Regions from separate parts of the Homo sapiens genome. Here region 1 is linked to region 2. The links are contacts of gene promoters, found by promoter capture Hi-C in blood cells and fetal thymus (Javierre and others, 2016). All regions are on one chromosome and are shown on one strand. Each heading gives the region's core, a stretch centred on a gene start or on the middle of the fragment in contact. The rest is flanking DNA. Distances are from core to core; before and after follow the strand shown.

What was found. Contacts are between HindIII fragments. The CHiCAGO score rates a contact against its expected background, and 5 or more counts as called.
Region 1: a fragment that was not itself captured here is called in contact with the fragment with the promoter of PTTG2 in region 2 in 1 of 17 cell types (neutrophils); the score reaches 5.6 in neutrophils.

What each region holds. Positions count from the first base shown.
Region 1 is chr4:37,582,385-37,587,959 of GRCh38, forward strand. The region is part of intron 2 of PGCKA1 (PDCD10 and GCKIII kinases associated 1); the gene reads left to right. It also overlaps a transcript of RELL1 not described here. Among named protein-coding and RNA genes, the nearest start is that of RELL1, 100 kb to the right of the region's middle. The HindIII fragment of the contact is 7,650 bases long and covers 1-5,123 here.
Region 2 is chr4:37,957,266-37,963,167 of GRCh38, forward strand. PTTG2 (pituitary tumor-transforming 2) reads left to right here and starts at 3,133. Exons shown (of 1, transcript NM_006607.3): 1 at 3,133-3,863. The coding sequence starts at 3,170. The coding sequence ends at 3,745. All of the region lies in intron 2 of TBC1D1 (TBC1 domain family member 1), which reads left to right. The HindIII fragment of the contact is 1,467 bases long and covers 1,961-3,427 here.

The DNA of each region.
Region 1 (5,575 bases), core at 49-2,548, 380 kb before region 2:
CAGTACAATGTTCAAAAGCAGGTAATTCACATCAATTTAATACGATTACCTAATCTACAGACCTTATTCAGATTTTACCAATTATGTCAATAACGACCTTTTAGCAAGAAGGACATGCAGTGCATCGGCTGTCATGTCTCTTAAATCTCCTTGAATTTGGAAGCATTCTTCTGTCTTTCTTTGCTTTTTCATAACATTACATTATTTTAAGAGTACAGGCCAGTTGCTTTGCAGACTATCCCTCGTTGTTTCAACTCAGAGTATGCTCTTTTGTCAGGAAATCACAGAAGTGAGGCTAAGTTCTCAGTGCATCCTATCAGGAGCCACATGCCATTGATTAGTCTCATTATGGCACTATTACCTTTGATTACTTGGTTAAGGCGCTGTATGCCGGGTTTCTCCAACGTAAGGATAATATTTTGTCCTTAATCATATGGGGGGGAGCTACTTTAAGACTAAATATCCTGTCCTCCTCAAAATTTCACCCACTAGTCCTACCATCCATTGATACTTCTTACTGACATCAATTATTATTATGATGGCTATCAAATGGTTTTTCTATTATTATGATGGCTATCAAATGATTTTTCTAGTTCCAGTATTTCTCGTATGTTTGTTAGCTGGTTTCCTACTTGTAAGGTAGAGTGTTCCCTTTCCCTTTATGTATCTTAGTGTGGACTCATAAGTCCTTGTTTTATTCAATTGGCTACAAATGCTGTAGATTAGTAATTATTTTAATATTCCAGTTGTTCCACATTTGGCCAGTAAAACTTCTACAAGTGGATTCCTGTGTCCTTTTAAAATGTCCCTGTCATTCTTCAAAGCTATCACTATTTAAAGGCAGCTTCCAGATGGGTTGAGTCTTTTCCTATATGCCCTTGACTTCCTAATGAATACTCAGTTAATTTCTCTGCCTGGCTGGAGAACTCCTGGGCTTCCCTGGACTTCGCCCTTCCCCTACCTCCATTGCTACCCTCCCAGCAAGGAGGCTTCACCAATGACTGACATGGCATTAGCATGGCCTTCTTTTTTTATTGTTTGTTTGTTTTTGTTTTTGTTTTTTTTTTTTTGAGACGGAATCTCGCTCTGTCGCCCAGGCTGGAGTGCAGTGGTGCGATCTCGGCTCACTGCAAGCTCCGCCTCCCAGGTTCACGCCATTCTCCTGCCTCAGCCTCCCGAGTAGCTGGGACTACAGGCGCCCACCACCACGCCCAGCTAATTTTTTTTTATTTTTAGTGGAGACGGGGTTTCACCGTATTAGCCAGGATGGTCTCGATCTCCTGACCTCGTGATAGCCTGGCCTTGTTTAAACACAAAACAGAGTCAGCCCCCAACACAGGGCTGCAGAAGCAGGCGGCAGCAGCATTGGGTGGACACAGCCATCCTAATGGTGTTTGTTTTTCCCCTGTGTAAACTAAGAAGTGGTTGTGAAGGATTTTCCCTTTGTTGCCTGTTGCTTTTTTATGCTCCAAAGAGGAAGCAAATTTTGATTTTGCTCAGTAATAAAGGGTACCCAACAACTGAATTCTTACCTTTAAGCTAGCTGTTGCCAAAAGGGAGGCAAGGAAGACAGCTGATAGACTGCTCATTTTGAACCCAATCTTACGTCAAAAGAGCATATTTTTTTCATTGCTGTGTGTCACATGCTAGACCCGGAGCATTTCCTTGTTGCCCCTGGGCTTAGGAGAAGTCCTTGCTAAATGCAAGATGTAGAAGTGGGAGTGACATATGAAAAAAGAAATGAATTAAATTTGATATGACACATCATATAAGGAAGAATAATTGTAGACACAGGCATGCAGGGGTTGGGTGTGAGTACATTAGTCCCCACCCTTTTCGTCAGCAGTCACACAACCTTGGACATTAGAGCCTGTCCGTCTGATCTAGAGAAGGAATGTTGCTGGGGAAGGAAAACTCAGGGCGAGGTGAGAGAGGACAGAACCTCTAACCAGGAAGAGGCTGTCCCCGCCAAGCTCCGGAGAGGCGCGGAAGCATGACCCTCAGGTATGGGACCAGGTCTATAGGAAACCCATGTGGTGTGCCCTAATGGGAGGCAAGCCGGGGAGGACCCAAACTGGAAACCTGATTCTGAAAGAGGAAAACCACCACAACATCCTTTGTAATTGTGCAGCTTGGAAGAACAGTATAGATCCTGTGGTTTTCCTGGGGAAGGAGGGGAGCCTAAAAGCCGCAAATGATGTATATTTCCTTCAGAAGCAGGGAAGGGGCAGTTTTCGAGTACGGCTGTTAAATCTCAGCACTCACTTCATTCGGTGCAGGCTGCTCCTGTGGTCTTGGCTATAGCAGCAGAAGGCGGGGATGGAGGGTGCCCCAGGGTCAATCTTGGTCAGCCTCCGAGGAGCTGGGAGTGCAAGGTGTCACTCTGGATGTGCCTGCCTGCTTTTCCTCGCCTTCTTGCCCTCCTTCGCCTTTCCTCCCTCTTTTCTTTCCTCCTTTCTTTCGCCTTCCCCTGTACACCTCTTGAATTCACCATCATAAAGTTGACCTGAGATGTTTCAATGAGTAATGTTTTATGATTGCTTCAGTTACATTATTACAATCCAGTCTGCCTTCCTTGTTTCTCAAACAGTTCTAAGCTCTTTTCTCCTTTTCTTTGACTTGTTTTTTTTTTTTTTTTTACTACCTATCCTCCTGACTAGTTGTTGTTGTTTGTTGGTTGGTTTGCTTTTAAAGAGTCCAGGATAAACAAAGTATTGCAGGCATGAAAAGGGTCAGGATTTCAGAGCGAATTGTGGAGGGGGAGGGTCAGGAGGGGAGGGGAGAGGAGGGGAGAGGAGAGGGGAGGGTGGAGGAGAGGTATTGAGGGAGGGGAGGGGAGAGGAGAGGTATTGAGGGAGGGGAGGGGAGAGGAGAGGTATTGAGGGAGGGGAGGGGAGAGGAGAGGTGTTGAGGGAGAGGAGGGGAGATCAGAGGTGTTGAGGGAGAGGAGGGGAGAGGAGAGGTGTTGAGGGAGGGGAGGGGAGAGGAGAGGTGTTGAGGGAGGGGAGGGGAGAGGAGAGGTGTTGAGGGAGGGGAGGGTAGAGGAGAGGTATTGAGGGAGGGGAGGGGAGAGGAGAGGTGTTGAGGGAGGGGAGGGTAGAGGAGAGGTATTGAGGGAGGGGAGGGGAGAGGAGAAATGTTGAGGGAGGGGAGGGGAGAGGAGAGGTGTTGAGGAAGGAGAGGGGAGAGGAGAGGTGTTGAGGGAGGGGAGGGGAGAGGAGAGGTGTTGAGGAAGGAGAGGGGTGAGGAGAGGTGTTGAGGGAGGGGAGGAGGTGCACGTGCTTCTTCTCGCCTGTCCTATTTATCCAGCTCATCTATGAATTATCAGCAGAAAAGGAAAGTAAAGGAGGAGTAGAGGCTGGGAATAAAATCCTGGGCTTTAGAAATGGGGTAGTTTAAGAGTATTCTGAAAGGTACAATGTTACACATGTGTACACAGTTCCATAGCAAAAGCGATTTTTCTGTCTACGGGACTGTTGTTGTACTTGGGGTTTTCTATCTTTCAATTGGTGTCACAGTTGATAGAAATATACCATGTAGCCCTTATTCCAGAAACAAGTCCTACTTGACATTGTTAATACTCTTGTTTGTATGCATAGGTTCTGGCAACTAGATTATATCTTTCTTGGATACTAGACCTCCATCTTTTTCTTTTTGGGGGGTGTGTTTTAATATGCTGTATCCAAATGGGGTGGTTAAGACACCCCTGGTCTATGTTTATTATGAATGTTTGCTCATATGACCCCCAGCAACACTATATAGTAGGAATATTATTATCCCCATCTACAGGCCAAGTGACTGAGGCCCAAAGTCCCACAGTAGCAGGGTTTTCTGTCTCCTGAGCCCACCCTCATAACACCTGGGCGACACGGCTGGCACAAACTGGAAATGTCTTGATTGGTTGCAGACACACAACAGGTTCACTGATAGTGCTCTCGTTTTTAATCCATAGCCATTAAATCATTCATTCATTCCACATTTATTGACTGCCTGCTCTGTACCAGGTGCTGTCCTAAGTGCTGAGAATTAGACTTGAAGAAGGGTGGAGCACGGTAAGGAAAGAGGGTGGCAAGAGATGCACGGCTGGTCCGAGGGACTCTTCTACATTCCATGAGTCCTCCCAGGAAGAGTTGGAAGGACAAGGGGTTTGGTCCTCAAGCATGAAGTGATTTGGGGATGTTACTAGTTTTCTGTGCTGCTGCAGCAAATTACTACGAACTTAGAGGTTTAAAAAAATGGAAGCAGCCGGGCATGGTGGCTCACGCCTGTAATCCCAGCACTTTCAGAGGCCAAGGTGGATGGATCACCTGAGGTCAGGAGTTCAAGACCAGCCTGGCCAGCATGGTGAAACCTCATCTCTACTAAAAATATAAAAGTTAGCTGGGCGTGTTGGCAGGCACCTGTAATCCCAGCTACTGGGGAGGCTGAGGCAGGAGAATCACTTGAACCAGGGAGGCAGAGGTTGCAGCGAGCCGAGATTGTGCCATTGCACTCCAGCCTGGGCAACAGAGTGAGGCTCTGTCTCAAAAAAACAAACAAAACAAAACAAAACAATGGAAGTTTATTCTCTCCCAGTTCTAGAGACCAGAAGTCTGAAATTGGTATCAGTGGGCTTGATCCAGGGGTGGGTATCAGGGATCAAGGTGTCACCGGGGCCACACTCTTTCCAGAGGCTCCAGGGGTGAATCTGTTCCTTCCCTCTTCCAGCTTGGGGGGCTGCCAGTACTCTTGGTTTGTGACCTCCTTGCTCCAATCTCTGCCTTTTTGGTCACATTGCCTCTTCCTCTTCTGTCTATAATCAAATGTCCCTCCACCTCCTTCTCATAAGCATTTATTTAATTGTATTTAGAGTCCACCCAGATAAACTAGGCAAATTGTACCATCTGAAAATCCTACACTTAATCACATCTGCAAATACCTTTAATTTGGGGGCTGGGGTGGCATATAAGGTATTATTTATAGGTTCCAGGGATTAGGATGTGGATATCTTTGGGGGCCATTTTTCAGCCTACCATAGGGAGTTATTTGTGGATTTTATTTTTTTAATGTAAATCTAGTCCCTTTTAACTAAGCAACCAATCTGTACTTCTTAAAAAGCACCAGTCATATTCACTGTGGACAAAAGCTTATGAAGCAGCATCCCTGGAAATTCACCTATGATTGAAAGAAGGAAGGAGGGACAACATGGGAGACAGAGACACAGCCAGCAATGAATGATGTCTCTTTCTGGTGCATGTGCTTCATGGAGACAGGGAGACTGGGGATGCAGATTCTGTTTTGGCTTGTCTTTTTAAAGGCTGTAGGCCCGTCACAGTGGCTCATGCCTGTAATCCCAGACCTTTGAGAGGCCAAGGCAGGCAGATCACTTGAGGTCAGGAGTTTGAGACCAGCATGGCCAACGTGGCAAAACCCTGTCTCTACTAAAAATACAAAGATTAGCCAGGCATGGTGGCACCCGCCTGTAAACCCAGCTACTTGGGAGGCTGAGGCAGGAGAATCGCTTGAACCTGGGAGGCAGAGGTTGCAGTGAGCCGAGATTGCGCCACTGCACTCCAGCCTGGGCGACAGAGTGAGA
Region 2 (5,902 bases), core at 1,883-4,382:
CACAATCATTAAAGTAATAAATAACACTACTTTTTAGAGACAAGGAATTTATCTGTTGACAGGAATATGTATTGCTGGGCACAGTGGCTCATGCCTGTAATCCTAACACTTTGGGAAGCCAAGGCAGGAGGATATCTTGAGCCCAGGAGTTCAAGACCAGCCTGAGCAACACAGCAGGACCCCTCTCTACAAAACATAAAAAGATTACCTGGGCATGGGGGTGCGTGCCTGTAGTCCTAGGTACTCAGGAGGCTGAGGCAGGAGGATTGCCTGAGCCTAAGAGTTCGAGGCTACAGTGAGCTATGATCACAGCCTCAGCAACAGAGCAAGGTCCTATCTCTTAAAATAATAAAAATAAAAACAAATAAATAAATAATATAGAAAGAGAAGAGAGTTGAGATTCCAAAACAGTCTTTCTGACTCCAAACTCCATTTTTATCCTACACCACTTTTTCATAAAAGTTCAGAACAGATTGTTTGATGTTTTTCTTATTGCTCATTATTACTTTTTAAAAGGTCAATTCTGACATGTGATTTACATTTCCTGACAAACTACATATCATTTTCCTCCCTCCCTTCTGTCTTTCCTTCCTTTTATTCTTCCATTTATAATGCAACAGATGATAGTTTTTCATGGTGTCCTGTAGGTAGTGTATTTTATTTTAAAATACCAGATAAAATTATCAGCAGCCACTTGTGGAAAGCTTCACTGGAAAATATTACTTCAACCATACTTATATGTTTTTTAAAATGCTATTTTTGTTGATCTCTGCTTAGAACAACAGAAACACAGATGGCTACAGTTACTGGATTTGCTGCCAGTTTTTATGCCCCTTTTCTCATATACGTTTATGGCGACCAAGTTTACTTTCAAAAACATATGCTAAGAATAGTAACACATTTTTCAGATTTGAAGTTGTCTAGGAAAAAAGTATGCTTCATATTAAGAAAGAGTCTGTAAGATCAACAAAGCAGATTCATCTCCTAGAAAACCCATTCTCTGAGCAGGCCATTTTCATCTCTAACCAATAAACACCAGATTCCTTAGCTTGGCAATCAAGAACCTTGACCATATCTGGTCCCAGATGATTCTTCATATTTTTTATTTTTGTTCCAAGATGGTGTACTCTATTTTCCAGCAAAATGGGACAGTTAATTTTTCCTCGTAGCCATGCTTTCCTCTGTTTTGTTCATTGTTGTTTCTTTTGCCTGGGGAGATTTCCTCTTCTTTTACTTAAGCATTCCGTCTCTCCTAGCTCCTTCTCTTACTTAAGCATTCCATCTCTCCTAGCTCAAATGCCACCTCCTCCAGAAAGTGTTCCTGGATTAGATTTGCTTTCACACCTCTAGACCTCCTTTATTTGTCCCTTCTTTAGGACACATATATGACATCTTTTACTTTAATTATTTCTGCCCCAATTCAGAGTACTATTAGAAGGCTGTTAATAAAAAATGAATGTGTCGGAAGAGTTGAAAGAAGTTGTTTAATAATAATTCCTGCTAATGGTATAATGAGACAGGATTACAGACAGGTGGCCTGCAAACTTTATTGTAAAAGTTGCCTACCATAGTGTTTGAAGAAAAACAATTCAATTGGAATGCCTGCAGATTGGCACACACACTCTACCCCACCAGTCTCCCCGTTCCCCATTGTCTTCCACTGGCACATCATATATTTACATTCCCTCACTGACTCTGGGTGGCACTTGAATTTACAAGCTCCATATAGAGGTTACATCAATCAGTTGATATACCAGGTCCAAGTCATGGCTCTGTCACTTTCTAGCTAGCTGTGTCAGGTTAAGAGCAAGACTTCTAATGATACCTTTGAATGGCCCTTTGTATTTGAGGTGGCCTTATGCAAATAAACAGGCACAGTTGACCCTTGAACAATGTGAGGGTTAGGGGCGCCAATCACCTGCATAGTCGAAAATCCACCTATAACCTTTGACTCCCAAAAAGCTTAACCGATAGTCTTCCGTTGACCTCACCAATAACACAGTCGACTAACATATATTTCGTATGTTTTATGCACTATATCCTGTATTCTCACAATAAAGTAAGCTGAAGAAAATGTTATTAAGAAAAATCATAAGGAAGAGAACATATTGCATTATTCATTAAGTAGAAATAGATCATCATACAGGTCTTCACCCTCATTGTCTTCACGTTGAATAGGCTGAGGAGGAGGAGGAAGAGGAGGGGTTGGTCTTGCAGTCTCAGAGGTGGCAGCCGCAGAAGAAAATCTGAGAACAAGTGGATCCATGCGACTCAATCCTGTATTGTTCAAGACTCAACTGTATATTTTTGCATATGGGCTCAAATACGTACGCACATATGTCACTGGGTCAAAGATTCATAGAATGAATTAGACAACAAGAATATTTATCATTGAATTGAAATGGCTCACTGCAAAAGTGCCCTCAACTTATCTCTAGGCCTTAGAAACAGAAGTGACCCTTTGCTGCTGTGAATCAATAGCCTGGACTAGATTGGGGTTGGGTTGGCAAAGGTATATAGTCATTGCCATAGTCCAGTATTCCTGCCCAAGCAAGCACCATTAGTAGTCACGTTGCTCAGAGAGGGCCTCTCGGCTCTCCCCACCACTGCATGCTGGATTGTCTGCCACCAGTAGATCAGAGTTGGCAAAAGGGATAACTCGGGATGAAACATTTGAGCATTTTGCAGTTTAGAGAAACTTCAGGGGTGCTGCTTTAGTAAAAAATGGAAGACTTGCATTTATTAAAGGTTAGTAAGAAGTGAAATAATGTATGCAAAAGTACATTATAAATTAGAAAATGCAATAACGGCAGAAACTATTTATTTATTGGTTGCTCTGCCCTTTACCTAAGTGGTTTTTGACCATTTAACAATGTGTAAGAGTTGGGTTTTACCTCCATTTTATGGATGTGGAAATAGGGCTTGGATGTTAGCTAACTTGCCCAAATCTTACAGCTAACAGAAAGTGGTACTCCCGAGATTCCTACCCAGGTTTGTCTGACCTCAGGCCTGTGCTCTTTATATGAGTTCATGCTAACTCTCAGATGATGTGCTAGGCACAAAAATTAGATATTACACCAATTTCCACTATAGTTAACATTCTATCTAAATATAAAGTGGGACCACGGTCTTAGATGAATGTGGCTGTTGAGAGCGGCAATAATCCAGAATGGCTACTCTGATCTACGTTGATAAGGAAATTGGAGAACCAGGCACCCGTGTGGCTGCCAAGGATGTGCTGAAGCTGGAGTCTAGACCTTCAATCAAAGCATTAGATGGGATATCTCAAGTTTTAACACGACGTTTTGGCAAAACATACGATGCTCCATCAGCCTTACCTAAAGCTACCAGAAAGGCTTTGGGCACTGTCAACAGAGCTACAGAAAAGTCAGTAAAGACCAATGGACCCAGAAAACAAAAACAGCCAAGCTTTTCTGCCAAAAAGATGACCGAGAAGACTGTTAAAACAAAAAGTTCTGTTCCTGCCTCAGATGACGCCTATCCAGAAATAGAAAAATTCTTTCCCTTCAATCTTCTAGACTTTGAGAGTTTTGACCTGCCTGAAGAGCGCCAGATTGCACACCTCCCCTTGAGTGGAGTGCCTCTCATGATCCTTGATGAGGAGGGAGAGCTTGAAAAGCTGTTTCAGCTGGGCCCCCCTTCACCTGTGAAAATGCCCTCTCCACCATGGGAATGCAATCTGTTTGCAGTCTCCTTCAAGCATTCTGTCGACCCTGGATGTTGAATTGCCAGCTGTTTGCTATGACATAGATATTTAAATTTCTTAGTGCTTTGGAGTTTGTGTGTACTTGTATTAATAAAGCATTATTTGTTTAACAACATAATAAATACATAAATATAAAGTGGGTCATATTCCTCTTTATGTGCATCTGTCTCAGCTGTCCCTTGTTTCTATATTTCTTCCATACTACAGCCCGTACTCTTTGGGGATATGTCAACATGATTTACTTCTGTAGAGAAACAGGAGACAGGAAATAGCAAAGGATAAAGGAGAAAAGGCCAGGGCCAGGCCAAGAACTTCTACATCTTTTCTTCCCAGCCTAGTGTGAACCAGATGAAAGCCTTAAGGAGGTCCTAGCAGCAAAGGGAGATAATTAAAAGAATGAGAATTTTGTGGAATGCTAAAAAAAAATAGGGAACATATTTGCAGCTAGGACTAACACTGATTATCTTAAAATGTCTATATGGCTAAATAATGTTCATGAAATCCCGTATCTTATTCTGCTAATGTCTTACAACTTAAAGCACTTTTATGTCCATGCCTTGAATTCTGTACAAAGCTTTGATAGAGTCACAGATGTCTGGTGTCAATCCAGATCACCTGAGAGGCTTCAGGGTTTCCTCTCTGGTTCCTGAATTCCAAGACTTAGTGAGTTTCCTAGGCCAGGAGCTGCTATTCATTATACATGTTAGTGGTTTTGCTCTTTCTACTGAAAGTGAGTGGTGGTTATGTCTCTGAACATGTTATTCCACAAAAAGCCAACTAGATGTGGCTATTTAAGAACCATCAAAGGCCATGACAGGCCAAAGTTTCCAAATCCCTCTTCAATCAAAGGATGCTGTCAGAACTGACCTCCAAAAAAGATGCAAGGTCTCAGTCCTAGGCTGTCATACTGGTCCTTAGAGAAGAGTTACAATTTTGTGATCTGCTCCACTCCATTTTGATTTTTGCTTCCATGCTATTTTAAAACTGGAGAAGGTTTAAGTTTAAAAATTCAAGACAAATCATAAAATATTTGAGAATTTACTTGTACATTGCCTGTCTTCCCAAATAAACTGTGGGCCCCATGAGGGCAGGGACCATCTCTGTTTTGTTCACTATGGTGTCCAAGTACTTCCCCCATATCTTGGAGCTGATTCTGTGGTGGGCTGCTCCAAGTAATCTTTATCTTGGGCCAGTAGCCACGCAGGTCAAGGATAAGTTTCCATTAGGTGTGGGCATAAGCTCCTACCCAGCCATTGTCCTCTTCACCAGAAGAACTAAATTTCATCTGTAAAGGAAGACATCACATTCTGTAAATGGTAGGGCCTCATTCTCCTGTAAGATTCATATTTCTGCATTTTGGATTCAAGAACCATAGGTGTATCCCATGGCAAGACAGGAAGTATTACTGGAGTCAGACTCCCTGGGTCTTAACCCTGCTTCCTCTGTTTAATGGATATGCAACCTTGGGCAAGCCGGTAACATCTAAAATTTTACTCTTATAGCTGTTGATAGAGACACTAAACGTTTAAATTTCTAAATGTTTACTGCCATATTTATGTATGGTTATTAGCATAGTAAGGATCTAAATGATATCAGAGTAGAAACTCAATAAATATTTGTTAGATGGATGAATAATTAACCTCTCAGACTTCAGTTTCATCACCTGTAAATAAAGAGGTTTAGCTATATGGTATCTTTGCAGTTCTAATATCCTGTGGACTTAGTTATGTTAGTAGTTATGATATTTTTTATTCTTGGTAATTTTTTCAGGATTACTATAAGGATAATAAGAAGTCAAATTCTAAACTGAAATAAGTCAAGGGAATTGAATAAAAACTTGGATAAAAAAAGAAAGTGTTTTAAAAATCACCCTAAGTCCAATGATCAGCTGGCCTTTGATTTAAAGTGTGTCTGTGGTCAGCCCACGGAAATAGTATACAGCTTCTCTGAAGCTCTTTAACATCTTCATTACAGTCAGTTTAAGTACTTCTTTGGCAATAAACATCAACTTTTTTTCAGATGTCTCTTTGCATATGATGGCCTTGGCATGAGACATGAAACCATTAAGAAAATACAAGCCAGGTCCTCTGCTACAGTCCATAAAAATCATTTAGTTGAAGCTATGCATATTTACTTATTAGCTTACACTCATTTTTAAACTGACTCACAAAAAGT